2 separate regions of the Homo sapiens genome follow, and region 1 is linked to region 2. The links are contacts of gene promoters, found by promoter capture Hi-C in blood cells and fetal thymus (Javierre and others, 2016). All regions are on one chromosome and are shown on one strand. The core of a region is centred on a gene start or on the middle of the fragment in contact, and the rest is flanking DNA. Distances in the headings are between cores, read along the strand shown. Region 1 overlaps CAND1.11 (a long non-coding RNA gene). Region 2 holds the start of WEE1 (WEE1 G2 checkpoint kinase).

What was found. The method cuts DNA at HindIII sites, captures the fragments that hold promoters and counts their contacts. A CHiCAGO score of 5 or more calls a contact.
Region 1: a fragment that was not itself captured here is called in contact with the fragment with the promoter of WEE1 in region 2 in 3 of 17 cell types (total B cells, activated CD4 T cells and fetal thymus); the score reaches 6.2 in total B cells.

The regions. Positions count from the first base shown.
Region 1 is chr11:10,322,972-10,328,137 of GRCh38, forward strand. The region is part of intron 1 of CAND1.11 (a long non-coding RNA gene); the gene reads left to right. Among named protein-coding and RNA genes, the nearest start is that of CAND1.11, 17 kb to the left of the region's middle. The HindIII fragment of the contact is 1,089 bases long and covers 1,673-2,761 here.
Region 2 is chr11:9,570,140-9,575,614 of GRCh38, forward strand. It overlaps WEE1 (WEE1 G2 checkpoint kinase), which reads left to right and starts at 3,531. Exons shown (of 11, transcript NM_003390.4): 1 at 3,531-4,370. The coding sequence starts at 3,795. RefSeq lists an enhancer at 2,757-3,609 and silencers at 3,184-3,533, 3,554-3,763, 4,054-4,153. The HindIII fragment of the contact is 14,841 bases long and covers 1-5,475 here.

The DNA.
Region 1 (5,166 bases), core at 967-3,466, 750 kb after region 2:
TACAGAACCAGGCAGGTCTCTGGCCTGGGGGTGGCGGGTGATGTTGTATTCTCTTGTCAAAGTGCACAGAGCCCACTCTGAGAAGATGCTATACTCTTCACGTTACAAGACGGCAATATGCCCGTTTCTGGGCCAATTGGCTGACTCAGAGATGAGGAGATTATTCCGTGACACTTTGTTTTCATTCCAGTCCAAAGGGCAAAAAAAAAAAAAAAAAATGTAAAACTCTGCTGCCACCTGCTGTTTCTTTAGGAATAAATTCTTGAAACGGTTCTAGGTTGATTGTATATTGGTTATCTTAGCCAAGTGCCTTGGTGGTGAATTTGGGGGATTTTGGAATATAAGTTTATGTAGTTGTGTACCAACTGGACTGTCATTTCCTAGGATGAACTGTTGGACCACATGGGTGGCTTCTCTCTTTCAGTCCATTAAGTCCTGCCTCCCTCATCCCTTGCTGAGACTCAAGGGCAGACTCCTTGATCCCAGACAACTTTCCAAGGGAGTTCACGCAAGGCTCTGACCAGTGAGGCTCCAGAGCAAAACCCAGGAGGCTTATAGGTTTAAGTGTCTTTTCTTTATGGGCCAATGATGTCTGAAAACTGTAGCAGTAGGTAAATTCCCCAAGCACAGACTATTCTCTGCTGGGTGTCAGTGGGTGGTATTGGAAGTGCCTCTCAGAAGTGCTCTTCTCAGCTTGAGGTTCATTTGTGATGAGGTTCATTTGTGGTGTCTCCAGATGTTTTATCTTTGTCTTCCTTGAGGAAACTGAGGCAGATTAAGGAAGACGAGTGTCCAGGAAAGTAAAGGCTAGCTCCATTTGAATCACACCCAGGTGAGAATACTTGAGCTCAGGTTAGATGATGAGAGGGATGAGGAAAACAGTGGCTCCTCGGAGCTCAAATAAAGAGCACTGGAGCATTAATATAGTCATAAGCTTAGATGGGCTTGATAAAGCCCTTAGTCATCTTATTGGAGGCATCCAGAGGACAGAGGCTGCCTTGCCTTGACTATATTAGTGGCTTGTTGCTGCTCCAAATCAGAAAGTGGGATTTTCCTTTTTGCCTTCTTTGGGAAGATCCATTTGTATGTAAATGAGTTCTTTTTGATTGCAGTCATTGTTGTAGCTGAGAATTCTTTCAACCAAGATCTTTTTCTTGGCAGAGATTACTGAGTCTATTAAGTGTGTTTTCATATAATTCTAAGTGACTTTTTAGATGGACACAGAAAGAAGTGTTAAGGAAATGACCCTTGGTCTTTTCTCCTATCAAAGAGAAAAGGCATTTGAGTGGTATCGATAAGCATTGAAGGTAACTGATGGCTTATCACTGTGTCTGGCATTATAGCTGGCACATTTATTGACTGAATGGTCAAACTTATCACCCGTTGTTCTTCCCAGAAGGTTCGTGAGACCTGTTGGGGAGGGACGGGGATAGAAAGGAACAGAAGGAAGAGTCTCAGAGTTAATCAGGTGGAAAGTCTGTAAGTGGAGTGAACCATGGGAGCTAGAATGCTATGGTAGGACCAAAATTAATACTGTATATGTCAAAATAAATGTGTATTACTTATAAAGTATATACAGTTCCTAAAAATTATCAAACAAGGTTATTATGTACAACATTTCTCCCTTCTGTGTCTCATTCCCTAAATATTATGATTGTTAACATATTGCACAAGCTTGACCATGTTTATGCTTCATGTATTTTCTTGTTTATGTCCCCGTTGTTCTCCCTCAGTATTTTGTAAAGGCTTTGGAAAAGTTCCAGCCTATCTCAGCTATGTGAAGAAGAGTTCAGGGAAGGAGTTTGTATAACACTAAAGAAATGTCAGTATCTCCTCACAGGTAGGGGCTGACATGATGCCACGGCAATGGGAAATGAAGTGGGAAACCCGAAGCAGGAAGGAAAACTCAGGAGAACTGGGTTGGGATAGTGGTTTCAGCTTCTCCTCGCCTCCTAAAGAGTCTCTTGATAGTTCTCAGGCCTTGAAGGTTCTGCCTGCCCCCAGGTTCCCCACCCCAGGAAAATAAGCAACTTCTCAGGAGAATAATGAGGTTGGTGTTTACCTTTGTGCTTCATTTGAGTAGCATGAGAGCACCCCATTCCTCACATCTGTTCATTCTTCTCCCCTTAGAAATCTTGTCTCAGCTGAAAGGTCAGAGCTAGAAGCCCCAATCTGCTTCTAGCTCTGACCTTCTGGCTTTGTCAGGAATCCCTATGAATTTGTGCTGTTGATTTTCTTTGAACTAAATACAGAAATGTGTCTGCACTCTGGGATAGAGAAGAGAGTATAGTAATTGCCAGGAGAACTGAAGATGACCTTAAGGCAGGCCAGGTGACTGGTAAACCATACCCTTCACAAGGCTACCAGAGCTCTAGCCTGACCAATATTATTTTGAAAGGGAATACATTAGAATCCCTGGTGACTAGATGAACATGGCCATCACTATTTCTACAAACCTGTCTTCTGATGAACATATACTCCTGCTGGATGGTGTCAAGACATGCTTGTTTCTTGAGTGGTTTAGATACCAGTTATTGCCCCTCCTGTTATGCCTGGTAACTAGGATGCTGTCAAGAAAATACAGCAGGACTTCATTGAGCTTAAAAAGAGCGTTTCAAAAATATTGCATTAGCCTTTTGTCCTTTCAGTCTGTTTTTCATAGAACAAATGTAATCTTAGTCGCTACAAATTTGTTTAAAATAGCTCTTCTGGTGAGTCACCTAAAGTTAACTGCAGATATGGTATTGTTTTAGCCATGTCAAGCTTGAAATGTTATCCAAGTCCTAGGAACTACTCACTATGGGAAGCTGATGATGTATGTGCCCTCACACGTGTTTTGAGGGTGATCCTATAATGTCCGGAGAGAAAGAAATGCCTGAGATGAACTGGTCAGCATTACATTTCTCAGAACGGGCTGCAAGAGCTTCAGAAGCAAAAGGAGTGTTCTCTGTAGGCTCAGATGCTCACATGACCCAAGACACGTGAAGGGTCTGCCCATCATTCACCCCTCTATCCCCACAAGTGGTCAGAAAGTTAGGAAAATCTCCAAGAGACCATGCAGAAGGGTCAAAGGATCTTGCAGATGTTCTGAGCAAAAAAATGAAAACTTTAAACAGAACATTGTGCCATGACTTGAAAAGGTCATTATCTAGTTCACACTTACATCAGACTATAAATATTGTCAGAAAAATGGATATGTTTGCCAGGACCATGAACAGTAAAATTGCTTAAAATAGGCCACAGAAACCCTCAAGGCCAGTGGGGCCATGGCAGGCCATGACACTCAAACCTGATGCTGCCTTGTGAGAGACCTCAGCAGGAACAAAAGCCAACAGCTGCTTATTGGAAAATTTATACTCAGTGGCCCTCAAAAATTGCAAAAGCCTTTCAAGTCATGTAAGTTAATTTTGTCTCACTCTTCCACCAGGTAGAAGTGAGACAGGGAGACTCATGCTCCTTAAATGAGGTCCCTTGTCAAAGACTAGCTGTCTTATGGCCTTTGAATACTCTGCCCTTCCCCCTTCCTATGGTATAGCTTTGTGTCCAGTTAGCACTGAGCAGAAGCTGCTCTCCTGCTGTCCCCACCCACTGTTGGCTAAAGCCAGGTCACCTCCTGCCAGGCAGCGGCTGGGTGAAAGTCCAGAGAAGCTCTCCTGAATAAACAAGTCAAACAAAGGCAGTTCCCAGCAGTGGATGGGGCTGTACTCCAGAAGTCTATTTGCAAATCTGTCCTTTAGAACTCGGAAGACATTCCCCAGGAGGAGCAATGTTATGCAGTGTGGCAAGGTTCCCAGGCTAGCCCACACCTCTGATTTAACCCAGAATGGGCTGGGGAAACAGTGCTCTAGAACTCATCATTATGGGTAATACCTTTGTAGTCTCTGCTCTTCAGTTTACAAATAGTTGCTGAGCTAGGCATGGTTCCAGGTGATGTGAAGGTTCAAAGCTGCCTCAGCTTTGTGGAGTAGGTAGATTCAGTAGCTCCTGGGTGCACAGTGGCTGAGATTTTCCCAGTCTCATGAAATCCCTGCTTCTCTTTCCTATCTACATGTTTTAGGCTGAAAGTGAAGGGATGACCATTCCGGCTTTTCTTTGGTTTGTTTCTTCAAGATAACCTGGTGTAGGGAAGGGTGAGAGTCCTGGCTCTATCATTACACACAGCAGCATCTCCAAGCTTCAGTTTCTCCTCTGAAAAATAGGATAATATGTAGCTAAGAGAGCCTTGGAGTTGCCTCCCCAGCCCTTGTTCTTCTCTTGGTAACTACCATGACTTTTGTTAGGGTATCCACATCTCCCCCAATAGACCACTCCACTCCTGAAGACTCAGGCCTAGTGCAATTCCATTTTAAGGCCACTATTACAGGACCCAGTGATGGGTGCTGGCCTAATTCAGGCCAGTGAGCTTGCATAAGTTTATTGGCTTATTTCCAGAAAAACAAATTTCCTTTTTCCTGCTAGATAAGAATGGGACACATATGTGGTCTCACTAGCAATTCAGGCCAATGAGTTTGCATAAGTTTACTGGCTTATTTCCAGAAAAACAAGTTCCCTTTCTCCTGCTAGATAAAAGTGGGAGACATATGCAGTCTCAGCAGCAATAGAAAGCCACTCTGAGACTAAAACAGGGGCAAGCCCTAGATGGAAGCTCTCATTGTGAATGGCAGAGTGGAGTGATGGAAAATAGAACTCCCTGATAAAGTTGTTGAACTCCTAAATGGACCCATCCTCAATCCTGTCATACTTCTATTGTATAAACCAATCATCTCCTTCACTTAGTAACCCATAGTGAGTTGAGCTTTCTGCTCCTTTTAATGGAAGCCATCTTAATTAATACATTATAGCACAGGATTTACTATGGGCATTAAATGGGATATAGCATTCACAGTATCTGTCTCATGCTGAAAAAAGAAAAAAAATTCATAGTATTTAGCACAGAATTTATATATGACCCCTGCCCTTCCAGTCCAAGGGCATTAATGGAAAAGACCATAGTTTCTCAGGCCTTTGTTGGATAGGGAAGAAGAGGGCATGTGTGGACTCCAACACGACCTTAACCTGGTTTGAGGCTTGAATATCTTGCCTGGGCTAGAAAGGTGGCCCCTCTGGACTGGCTTTAATTTTAGGATCAGTCCCTTTAGAGGGAGTAGATCTTGTAAGCTGGGGTTT
Region 2 (5,475 bases), core at 2,281-4,780:
AGAATTTTGTACCATTTAAGTTTTTGTTACTGGAGTGGGGAAAAACCATGGGGAAAAATAGGAAGTGTGATGGCTGCTACCTCTACAATCTTGCATTAAATAGAGTACTAGAGTGGTGATCTCTGTTCAATTTTTTTTTTTTTTTCCTGAGATAGTTCTCGGTCTGCTGCCTAGGCTGGAGTGCAGTGGCACAATCACAGCTCACTGCAGCCTTCATCTCTCAGGCTCAAGGGATCCTCCCACTTCAGCCTCCTGAGTAGCTGGGACCACAGGCATGTGACACCATGCCCAGCTAATTTTTAAATTTTTAGTAGAGGTGAGGTCTCACTATGTTGTCCAGGCTGGTCTTGAACTCCTGGCCTCAAGTGATCCTCCTGTCTTGACCTCCCAAAGTGTTGGGATTGCAGGTGTGAACAACTACCACACCCGATTCAAAATCTTAAATAGGCAAACTTATCTGCAAATGTGCCAATTTAGGAAGCGAATAAACCAACAATTATTTAAATAAGGGCTCTTTTATCACTCACAAGGGAGTGAACGCCTAATCCACGTTAGAATACTGCAATAAACAAGGGTCCCCTACCCTCGGGGACCTTATTTTTCTAGAAGGAGATAGTAATAAACTAACAACGTACTTTGAGATAGAAATAAGCCTGCTAAGGAAATAAAGCCAGGTGTTGTGAAAGAGCAAAGAGTGAGGGAGGGGACGTGAGAACAGAGATACGGAATTCTTACATAGGAGGAGTTTAGGAGCATCAGTCTAGTTGTGGAGAGGCAACTAAAGGGCTTTAAAGTCCCATTTACTTAGAAAGCACACTATTTTCACATGCAGTTTATGTTACAGATCGATAAAAGTAGGGTTCTCTATTTTTATTTATGCTTCATAATAAATTGAGAAAATGTCAATTATATCAAATAATTATATTTGTCATCAGGAGTGGCAGGAGGGGGCCCACAGCCTGGGCAATATGGTGGCTCATGCCTGTAATTCCAGCACTTTGGGAGACGGAGACGGGCAGATTGCTTGAGCCCAGGAGTTCTAGACCAGCCTGGGCAACATGGTGAAACAGAGTCTCTACTAAAAATGCAAATATTAGCTGGGCGTGGTAGCACACATCATTAGTCCCAGCTATTTGGGAGGGTGAGGTGGGAGGATCTCTTGAGCCTGGGGAGATCGAGGCTACAGAGCCGTGATTGCACCACTGTACTCCACTTTGAGACAGGGTGGACAGAGTGAGACCCTGTCTCGAAAAATAAAAATTTAAAAAAAAGGAGTGGCAGGAGGGGAAGTGTTGGAGCAAGGGTTCTGAAAATCACTCCTTGGCTTTGGCCACTGTGGATCATTGACTAACTCTCCTTATACAAGTCTAGAATTCTTGTCCTCCAAGAGCTTAAAATTAAGTTTGCATGACCATATAAAAAACACATTTATACACCAGTTAGCAAATGTTAGGAGAAAAGACAGCTGTTGATCCTTCACTGTGTCTTCAGTTGTGTGATCTCAGGAAATTCCCGATTTGATGTGTTAAGTACTACCGTGTGTTTCAAGAAAAATTCAGCTTGAGTTTATTTAGCCTTTGAAAAGCATTAGAACAACATATATGACAAAGTGTTAATATGCATAAAGTGCTAACAATAAGAAAAATAGGCAATAGAGATAAATGTAAATTATCATTAAACCCATGACAACTGTTCAACAATATGAATCAAAACAACAAAACCACATCAACGAACATCCACTGATGTCCTGAATTCACAGAGTGTGCTCTAATCCACTGCTAGTGAGAATGTATTGTGTTTCTGGAGGGGGAGTTTGCCAGTTTATATCCTTTGACTGAGGAATTCTAACTCCAGGGAGGTATCCAAAAGAGTATTTTAAAAAGGCCAGGCGCGGTGGCTCACGCCTGTAATCCTAGCACTTTGGGAGGCCGAGGCGGGCAGATCACCTGAGGTCAGGAGTTTGAGACCAGCCTGCCAACATGGTGAAACTCCGTATTTTGCATTTTGTAAAAATACAAAAATTGGCCAGGCCTGGTATGTGCTTGTAATACCAGCTACCCGGGAGACAGGAGAATCGCTGGAACCCGAGAACCCGGGAGGTGGGGGCTGCAGTGAGCCGAGATCGCGCCACTGCACTCCAGCCTGGGGCGACAGAGCGAGACTCCGTGTCGAAAAAAACCAAACCAAACAAAAAACATGGAGAAGGAAGCATATACACCACGGGGTTGTTTACAACAGAAAACTGGAAGAGGCCGGGAGCGGTGGTTCACGTCTGTAATTCCAGCACTTTGAGAGGCCGAGGCGGGCGGATCACTTGAGATCAGGAGTTGGAGACCAGCCTGGCCAACATTGGGAAGTTCGTCTCTACTAAAAATACAAAAATTAGCCAGGTGTGGTGGCAGCCGCCTGTAATCCCAGCTACTCGGGTGGCTGAGGCATGAGAATCGCTTGAACTCTAAAGGCGGAGGTTGCAGGTTGTAGTGAGCCGAGATCGTGCCACTGCACTCCAGCCTGGGTGACAGAGCAAGACCCCGTCTCAGAAAAAAAAAAAAAAATAAATAAACAAAGAAAGAAAAAAGAAAACTGGAAGAAACGTGTAAGTGCATTAAGGGACAGATTAAATCAGTTTAACGAAGCACTAGGGAAATTTTTTAAAATTGCGTTTGAGTTTGCCGCGAGCCGGGCCAATCGGTTTTGCCAACGCATGCCCACGTGCTGGCGAACAAATGTAAACACGGAGATCGTGTGCCGGGCACTTGGTTTCGTGGTGGGCAACTGTGCTGCTGTTTCTTTTGGCCGCGGACAAGGTCGGCAGAGGTGGACCCCTGCTTGGGAGAGCTCTTCTCGCTGTGCTGACACCCGCCCCTAACAGTCACCCACCCCGGGGAAATAATGGGGCTCGGAGGCCTCCTCCCAGCCAGTGTCCAGCCTAAGCACATCGGCTCCCGCAGTTCAGAAAGGTCCCGAGGCCCGAGTCACCATTTCCGGCTCAGACCTCGACCCTGAACGTGGCTGCCCACTGCCACGCCCACTACGCCCCAGTGGCTCGCCCCAGGGGACGAGGGGCAAGAAGCGGCCTCCGAGGGCAGCGGCCGAAGGCCATTCGGTCCCTGGCTCTTCCCAGCTCGCAGAGACCCGGAGGCGCTGCCCGGCCGCCTGCCCCTCTTCAGATCCCCCAGCACCGGAGGAGCAGCGAGGGGGGTGCGTCCAGGCCGGCTTTCGGGTCGGCTTAGGCGAATCCAGCTCTCTTTTGCCCCTCCCAGAAGGCCCAGCCCCGTCCGGGCGGTGTTCGGGCGGCGCCGGGCCGGGCCCCCCGCCGCCCCAGGCTCGCTCATAGGCCCGGAACACCACAGCCCGCCCAGACTTGGCTGGCGCCGAGCCGGGGGTGGAGCCAGCGGGTTCCCGCCAAAATCGCGTAGCTGGTCCTTCCCCCGCGGGCTACGTCGCGCCCTCCTTTTTTTTTCAAACCCGGAGCTGCACTGGGATTGGTGGACTGGGCACTCACGTGGTTAACGGTCGCGGGAAGCCGCGGAGCCCGAACCTGAGACTGGACCTGAGGAGACCTCAGCCTCGGTGCTCGGGCCGCCCCGCCTCTGCCGGAAAGTCCGCGCCGCCGCTGCCGCCACCGTCCGCAGCCCGAGCGCCCCGGAGCCGCAGGCCGCCGCCGCGCAGAGACGCCGCGGCTGCGACTAGGCGCGCCCAGCCGCACGTGGCGGACCCGCCCCCAGGCCCGCAGTGTCCTGGACCCCGCAGGCCTCCGCTCTCCTGTCCTCGGCCCCGTCCCCAGGGCCGCGATGAGCTTCCTGAGCCGACAGCAGCCGCCGCCACCCCGCCGCGCCGGGGCGGCCTGCACCTTGCGGCAGAAGCTGATCTTCTCGCCCTGCAGCGACTGTGAGGAGGAGGAAGAAGAGGAGGAGGAGGAGGGCAGCGGCCACAGCACCGGGGAGGACTCGGCCTTTCAAGAGCCCGACTCGCCGCTGCCGCCCGCGCGGAGCCCCACGGAGCCCGGGCCCGAGCGCCGCCGCTCGCCCGGGCCGGCCCCCGGCAGCCCCGGCGAGCTGGAGGAGGACCTGTTGCTGCCCGGCGCCTGCCCGGGCGCGGACGAGGCGGGCGGTGGGGCGGAGGGCGACTCGTGGGAGGAGGAGGGCTTCGGCTCCTCGTCGCCGGTCAAGTCGCCGGCGGCCCCCTACTTCCTGGGTAGCTCTTTCTCGCCGGTGCGCTGCGGCGGCCCAGGAGATGCGTCGCCGCGGGGTTGCGGGGCGCGCCGGGCGGGCGAAGGCCGCCGCTCGCCGCGGCCGGACCACCCGGGCACCCCGCCACACAAGACCTTCCGCAAGCTGCGACTCTTCGACACCCCGCACACGCCCAAGGTGAGAGCGGCGGGCGCGGGCACCCGGCGGCCGGGGCCGCGGCGCCGGAGGGGCCAGCGCCGCTGCCTGGGTTCGGTTACAGAAGCGGCCGGCCGCTCCCCCCTCGCTTTCCTGCGCCGCCCCCCAAAGTTGGCAGCCCTTGTGTTTGGCCCTGCCCCGAGGTTGTCCGTTGAGATTATGTAACTGAACAATGGGCCTCGTCTGGAACTTCATCTTACAAAGGGGCCGATCGGCCCGTCCGGGTGGCCAAGGATTTGCCGCCCGTTGAGTCCGGGCCGCCCCGAGCGTGTCAGCCCCGAGTGCGGCACCGATAACGCGGTTCGCGAGGATGCTGGAGGGTGCCGGCCCGGCCACCTGACACTCCCGAGCCATAGGATGCCTTTTAAACGCGGCGATCGGGCCTGTAATTTGGGCGGCGCGGGCAGAAGGAGTTTAAAGAAAAATAATTGTCCCGCCCTGATCGTGTCGTGTCGTGTGGCGTGGATGGGGGAAAGGTCTGGGGCATGCAGGGAGACTACGCTTGGACTTGGGAGTAAAGGCTGGCCTTCCAAGCATTTACAGTCCTACAGACTCATCCTAAGTCCAGGCAGTACTGAGGCCTGTTTCTGGACAAGGTCTTGGCCCAGCATTTGTTTTTATCGTGGGTTTGCGGTGCCCAGAGTTTGGCCGGCCTCCGTGTGATTAGGAACATCCTACCGTAGATAAGGTATCTTAAAGAAGGAGGTGTTCAGCACCTGTGTTTTGAAAGGCCTTCGAGTACTGCGCAGATGACCACTTTTAAAACTGCAGATTTTAAAGCTGATACTTCCAGAGATTAAGACAAGCCTCGCATTTGTAAGGTTAACAGGGAAGATGCACCTTTTAAAGTGAGTTTGTTTTGTTTTCAATGTACTGTTTGTCATCAGCCTAGGCAATCTGTGTGCTTTCGAGCTGTACTGTTTATTGGCCGACTTGCTCAAGGCAAAATCCCTCTGGAAGTGAGGGGAGGAGTCCAGCGGAGGTGGCTATGGAAGCCCTATCTAGATGGGGGAGGGGAGATTTTATGGGGCTCTCGGACTGCTTTCTATTTTTGGATGGGTTGAAAGAATTTGTTAACTTTTAGCCA